Linked DNA regions of Homo sapiens: region 2 is linked to region 1. The links are contacts of gene promoters, found by promoter capture Hi-C in human tissues and cell types (Jung and others, 2019). All regions are on one chromosome and are shown on one strand. The core of a region is centred on a gene start or on the middle of the fragment in contact, and the rest is flanking DNA. Distances in the headings are between cores, read along the strand shown. Region 1 holds the start of ZBED5 (zinc finger BED-type containing 5). Region 2 has its middle 13 kb from the start of MIR8070.

Region 1 (3,468 bases), core at 864-3,363:
AATCAAAATTAAAAGGATAATGCAATCTAAGGATTGCTAAAGAATACTATTAACTCTATAAATCAAGGCATACAAATTATGTCTGTCCAAATATAGCTACTTTTGATTTAAACTTTATAACCTGGCTATAGAGTAAGTTTTGTATTCTCATGTTAGATCTTGAGTCAAAATGGTTCTCCTATTAAGGGGTAGAGGATAAGATACCTGAAATAAGGTGTTCTCCTTTCTGTAATCCCTCTCTCCACCTTGGCAGCTTGAAATGCACTCTTCAAAAGAATAAAATTAAGGGATGGGGTGGGAAGGGGAGTAACCAAAAGCCTAGAATGAGAAAAATTAAAATTAGATACAGTAACAAGCAGAACTAACTATAAACCCGTAAGATGGGTTTATTCTTTCTGGATCTAAGCAGTGAAAATGATTCTTTACTGCAATGCAGATCTTGGACTGAAAGAGAAGACGCCTAGCATAGTAAAAATTCTAACATTTTCATCCTGTTCAATATCTTGGCAATTTAGATGCTTTGAGATGTTCCCCCACCTACTGACTTCATAGAAACATGTTAAAACAACACCACCACCACACTTTCTAGAACTTGAAACTAAGCCTAATTTTTAAAAGTACAACCTCATCAATGTCTCTAAAACTAGGTCTTGAATCTAAAATGGAATTATACATAGAACTATTACATGAAGCAGTTCTTTCACTACAATCATTTTTAGCCCCCCAGTGACCAATCTCCTCAGGTAAACAATGTCTAATGACTGATGATTGTTTACTGTATGCCAATTACTGCTAAATCCCTCATATAGATTATCTCATCTATGAAGACACAAGGATTATTAATAACCCCACTTTAGAGATAAACAGACACAGGTTAACACATCTCGCTAACACCTCTTGTAAGTGAAAAACCAAGTTCAGAGCCCAAAAAGTTTGACTGCATAGCCCATGTGTCTAGCCATTACTTGGGTGTTCCTGAATACTTTTAATTCCCCAACTACTAAAAAATCTCGTTACTAGGAGTTGGGTTATGCAGCGAAACGGATGAACAATGGATTATAACTGCCAGAAAGTCGAGGGTCTCATACTAGCAACAGCATAAAGCCCTGCTTCTTATTGGGAGCAAAAAAGCAGATTCTCCTTCCACAGTCTCCTTTTGGATTTTGCAACGGAGAACTCTGTGGAGCTGCTGGTTCACGTAAAAGATCAGGATCCCTCTCGTTGCCAGAGGACACAGAAGAGTAGGAAGCTTTTGTTTTCAGAAAGAAGGTCCTCAACCCCACCTCTTCGAAGGTGTTTCCCCGAATTTCTCGAGGACAAAGAATCTGGACTCCTTTGAGAGTAAAGTTTCCTTTCCACTCCCTGAAGAGCGGGGAAAACTTCCGTCTTTAGTCTCCTTCCGGTTAAACTGACAAGTATCACAATCCTTTCTCCCCTATCTTCGGGCGGTTCCGGCTGGGAACAATACCCTCAGGGTCAGGAGGACAGGATCTGAGTGCAGGCCAGCCAAAAAGGTGGGAACAGATGCTCCTTCCAACACCTAAATGCTTTTTTAAACGGTCACCTGGATGTGCAGCCAGGGCCAACTATCCCTCAGCTCCTCCCTGTCACAGGTGCGCGCTGCCCACAGATTGCCACGACTGGGGGGCTCCCTACCAGTCGCAGCCCACCCTCGCCTCAGGTCTTCTCTCGCGTCCCCGGGCGGCCGCCTGCGCTAACGACCACATGAAAACGTCTCAGCACCCAACACCATCTCTCTATTTCATCTCCATCAGCGATGGAGAGAACGGATTTTGCCGCGGCTGGGCTGCACAGCAGCGCCGCGGTCCACAGCAGAGCCCGCGACCGCCATCTTAGGCAGTTCCAGGAAGCGGCCATTTCAGAGCGCACCGCTTAGCCGCGGCGGCGGCTCTGCTTCTCACCTTCACCGAGGCCTGAACAGGGTCAACAGCCAGTCGTCGTGGACTGGAGGGGGAGGGGAGAGAGGGAGGGGAATGAAAAACAAAACAGAGAGGAAAGAAGGATTCGGGGACAGGGTGATGCTCTCAGCTCAGGGATATCGCCTAGGCCATCTCCATAGAGATCCGATTCGCGGCTGGCGCGGTCGCCGGTCTGAAGATAAATTTAGCACTCTAGAGCACCCGAACCCTACAATCTTCACGAGCGACTCTGCCGCCGCCCAATCAGCGCCAGATTTGCGTCCCGCCACCAATCCGCGCTGAGCAGCGGGGCGGGACCAAAGGAAAGGACCAAGCTCGGTTGAGGCGCGGCCCAGCCGCAGCCGCAGTCACAGCCTCAGCCGCAGCGGCCGTGCTACCTAGGTGATAGCGGAGCGGCTGGGTAGGAAGCAATTGTTCTCAAACTTCACTAGCCCCGTCGGCGCGGACGCTTGTCGAGAATGCAGATTCCTGGGTACTGCCAGATACGGTTGGTGATCTTGTAGGGCTGGAGTGGAAGCCATGAATCTGCATTTTCATCATTTCTGGCCCTCTGCCCGGGCTGGGGTGATTCACGGGGATTCGTAGTGGCCCCAAAGGAGCACGCAGAACCTCGGCTGCTGTGCATTTATCACCTCTTTTGTTCCCGGAGGCCGCACCCCAGGTCCAGTTTACACAGCTGCCAACTCCTTTTCTTGGTTCCCACTGGAATCTAGGAAGAAAACTCGCCCTTTACTTCTCCGCCCCACACCCGACGACGGAGTGTCTAGAGGTCTGGTCGGCCTTGGCTGTGCGGAGGGCTAGGCCTGACGAGCGGGCGCTGATGCGGCGCAGACCCCGCCGGACCTCTTGGTCGGCCCGGGGTAGGCTGGGGAGCCGCGGGAACAGGACTGGATAGGGAAAGCGGCACCGCAGCGTCCACGGGCAAGCTGAAAGTCCGCTTGATGTCTTTGCATCACAGTGGCGCCCTCCCCGCAGGAACGCCCGGCCGCCTGCACCGAACGTTTGCCTGCAGGGAACGGCCAACCCGCCCTGAAATACTCTTTTTGTGGGCTGCAGCTTTCGGGTATTTTAAGCCATGGTTCTGTGCCCTTCCTTGTTTTCAAAAACACCACAGCCAAAGGCTGCGGGTTGTGTGCTTTCATTTTGTGTTAAGTTCTGTGGTGGAGACCTGGAGTCTGTTTTTCCAAATAGGCACCTTGAAATAGATACGCTTCTTAAGCGGGGAAAGTACGAGTAGGTCCTATTATTTGCAATGTTTTAGCCTTTCCAGACTCCGTACAAATGACTAAATGAAGATTGGATCGTATTTTCAGGCACTGCACCAATGATAGAAAATTCTCAACTTGGGGTCAAAAGCAAGGGCAGCTTTCGTTTTTCTTAAATATGCTTCTGATCAAATATCTAAAGTGTTGAAAGAAACCTAACCCTTAATAGCACAATTTACAGGAGTGCATAATTTCCTAGGACTGACATTTAGTTCCAAATGTTTTAAAGTCAATTACAACATCATCTCACCCTATAGTAAGCT
Region 2 (3,773 bases), core at 584-3,083, 910 kb after region 1:
TGTTACCATGTGGTAGCCTTTCCTAATACGTACTCCCCATCACTTTCAGCCATTCCCAGTGCTGATGGAATAAATGTTTTTGAAGAGTAGAATCAGTTTTATGGAGTGCATGTTTTAATGAATACAGTAATGTGTTTACCTCCCAATTTATCTTCTACATTTTGGCCATAAAATTTAACTGTATCTGAAGGATAATTTAATAGTTCTGTAAAGAAAGGCAGCTTATAGCATGAAAAGCTTATAGCTTTTCCAAGTAAGAGGAAAAATTTAAGCTGGAGGTGGTTTTAAAAATCTTTCTAATATCCCTTACAAGAAATACCATCCTATCCATGCCCAGGGTCTTTGAGATTTGTAGATGGGAAATACTCCTAGTATTGGATGATTCCATTTCCACAAGGACTGGAACGTGTCAGAAGCACAATGAATGCCCTTTTTTTTTCTTAACTTTCTTTCCAACTTTATCATTATCATTGTCATCACTGTTAGGTTACGCACTGGTTTTGCCTAAAGCAACAAACCATCAAAAATTCACAGCCTTCAAGGCCGTCCCTAAGTTATCGGCACACATAGAATAAATCTTATATTAACATTATTGCATATTTCTATCAGACTATGACTATCCAGTGATCTGACCAACTCCCTCCACCTTTGTAAGCAGAAAAGCTCCATCGATTTCCCCCAGACAAATGGAAATATTACTTGGAGAATTTCAACCCCAGTGTTGCTTCTGCCTGAACTAACAAGAAGATTTCATCCTACATTGCATTCAGTCTTGCCTCCAGCTGTGAGAAATTCTGCCACGCTGGAATACGGACTTAGATGTGATACACAGTGGGCCATGAGTGATGTGCACCAGCCAGCAGAGGGACATTTTTCTAGGCAATGCTGTGGACTCCTAGAAGTAGGAACTGAGGCATACTTGGCTCTCTGTCCCCTAGCACATAACAGAAGATCCATGAATGCTTATTGAATTTCAACTAGCTCAGCTGAAGAGGCTGGTTCCAGCAAAGACAACTGGATGGCTCAAGACACAAAGTCTGACAGGTACAGTTTGTTCTGCACTGATTTAGGCAAGGCAAGGCTACTGGTAGGGTGCAGTGGGTGGGAGACAGAAGACAGGTGATGATGGAGTACTGAAAAGGGAAGAGCTCAGGTATTTGGAGAGATGTATATACATACAGGCAGGTGATGCCAATTCAAGTGATGCATTCATTCTTAGCAGGACCTCAACCAGTAACTTGAGAGGACTGAGTTCAGGTAGTAGATTTCAGCACTTCCCCACCACCATCCCAGCATGGAAGAAAGAAACTGACCTGAGTGTAAGTCCCAACCACAGAGATAGAGTTCAAGTTAGAACCCATTCATAGAGAGAGAAAGTATAATGCAAGACATAATCAGCAGGCCACCACAGGGCAGAGATGGTAGCAAATGCCCAGTTTGGCAAAGTCTCATCCTGAGTCAGGAAGTCCCAGGACTGTGGGGCACTCAAATAGTCAGAGTTCATTCTTGTCATTAGAACATCAAGTCTGGGAGTGTGACTTCACTCCAGGCTGTCCAGGTTATGGGCACCAGGCTGCTGTTGTAAGCTATGTCCTGATCAGGAATGGCTGGAGGCTTTATGAGGTCCCAAATCTGCAGATAAGAGGAGCTGAGTGAGGCCAAAACAGGTAGCAAAGAGCCTACAGATTTTGCCCAGCCTGTTTCTACAGAAGGTTCAGAAACACAGTCGTTCAGGCTCCAATTGAACCAAGACAGTGTAGTCTGACAGAATAATTATTTAAAGATGATCTTAGCCTAAATTCGTTTCTTTGGTATGATTTGAAGGAAAGTAGCAGGTTATACAGTGTCTTTTTCTAGGCAGCAAATCCAAGTTCTTGGCTCCATAACTGTCTGGCAGAAGGTTTGGGAAGGTTGGTGAGTAAGCTAGATGTGTCTTGTTTTGGAGAATTTTGCCCAGTGTCAGCTCTACTCCCTTGATGTAACCAGGCAACTGGGTGATTTTATCAAGAATGAAAAAGCAGGAAAGGTGCCCAAGTTCCATAAATCAGTGCTCTGGGAAAAGGTACACTGGGGGCTTCTGGAAGATGGTGAAGACAAAATAAAGGAAAGAAACCACTCACAATGACCATGGCACAGGGAGTAAGAGAAAGAGATGACAGAAGTCTGATGGGAATAGGAAAAGAGTCTCATTTCCTCAAGATCCATGGTGTCCAGAGATTAAGAATGTTCCTCCTAAGGCCAACTGAAGCCTAGAAAAGGACACAAAGAAGCTCTTCCCTTCCTTCTCCTCACCATCATTCAACCCTGAGTTCTTAAAAATTATACTCTATACCCATTGAATTAGTTAGAGTTTAATCAGAAAAAGAGACCAGACCCCCTCCAGGTTTTCCAAACAGGAAAGATTTTAATATAAGGAATTACACACTTATACAACCATAACCATTGGAAAGACTTGGGTAGCAAAGATTAGGGCCAGAGGTGCTGCAAACTTCAGATATTGCAGGAAAGCTACAATCTCAGCTACCTGTAGCATTGAAGCAGATGATTCATAGGAACTAACCCGACAGCTCTGCAAGCCTCTCCTTTCTCCCGCTTCCCATCTGCCCACAATTGCTGTCAGAGAATAATGGCTTCTGCTTCAACTTTCACAAGAGTTTACAGAATCTAACAGGGAACCATCCAGTAAAGGAATTCTGGGTAATGTAATTGCAGATTTCTCTATAATGATGATGTAATGATGAAGATGATGTAGAAGGAGGTAGAGAAAATGCTGAGTCAACAGCAAACAATCTGGCACCCATTGAGAATGGAGGGTTCGTGATTTCTTTTATCCTTAATGTGTGATTTTTAGATTTGAAGTTTGTTATTGATTCTGTATTGAGTATGTCTCTTTTCACAGGCTTATCCTGAGTGTTTACAAAATGGCAAGAGATTGCTAGCTTATTTATTCATGCATTCTCTGAATACTTGCTGAGCTCTTTTTATGTGCCAGGTGCTGTTCTAGGTGCTGGGGACATATTGGTGAATAAAACAGACAAGATCCCTGCCATCATAGGCTTACATTCTAACCAGAATGTAAGACAGTAATAAAGAGGAAAATGAACAGGGTAATTTCTTTTTTTAACAGCTTTAGTAAGGTAAGTTTCACATATCATAAAATTCACTCATTTTCAGTGTACAATTCAATGACTTCTAGTAAATTTACTGAGTGGTACAACAATCACTATAGATAAGTTTTAGAACATTTTCATCCCCCTGGTAAAATCCCTCAGGTCCATTTACAGTTAATCCCTGTTCCCACCCCCAAGCCCAGGCCACCACTAATCTACTTTCAGTCTCTATAAATTTGCCTTTTCTGGGCACTTCATAGAAATGGAGTCATTCCAGTAACTTCAATTTGAGATAAATATGATTCCAGTGAATCAGAGAGATGTGACAGAGCTACTGGAGCAGCAGAAGGACTCCTGCTTATTTGGGACAGTGGAAGAAAACTTTCCGAGAAAGACCAACATTTGAGCTGAGATACACCTTGTCAGATATATGAGACATATATTGTCAGGACCATGAGGTAGAGAATGGGTTGCTCCATATTAAATACACTAAAATACACCAATACACAATACAAATCGTGGCTTGGAGATGATGGGAGAGTTTCCTTCCTTCTCACCAGTCACTGTGTTATGGCAACAGTCATGCCCAAGGAAGGCAGTCTCGGGAGACCTGTGGGCACCTGGAGGAGCACAGTCTTGTGGAGAGAACTCAAAAAGAGATGG

The links. The method cuts DNA at HindIII sites, captures the fragments that hold promoters and counts their contacts. A contact is called where the count stands out against the background at its distance.
Region 2: a fragment that was not itself captured here is called in contact with the fragment with the promoter of ZBED5 in region 1 in 2 of the 25 tissues and cell types used here (dorsolateral prefrontal cortex and mesenchymal stem cells).

Annotation. Positions count from the first base shown.
Region 1 is chr11:10,855,940-10,859,407 of GRCh38, forward strand. ZBED5 (zinc finger BED-type containing 5) reads right to left here and starts at 2,114. Exons shown (of 3, transcript NM_001143667.2): 1 at 1,923-2,114; 2 at 205-318. It overlaps ZBED5-AS1 (ZBED5 antisense RNA 1), which reads left to right and starts at 2,278. Exons shown (of 3, transcript NR_034137.1): 1 at 2,278-2,427. RefSeq lists enhancers at 1,780-2,159, 2,313-2,950, 2,460-2,549, 2,951-3,468. The HindIII fragment of the contact is 25,171 bases long and covers 1-3,468 here.
Region 2 is chr11:11,768,534-11,772,306 of GRCh38, forward strand. No RefSeq gene overlaps it. Among named protein-coding and RNA genes, the nearest start is that of MIR8070, 13 kb to the right of the region's middle. The HindIII fragment of the contact is 5,196 bases long and covers 1-3,773 here.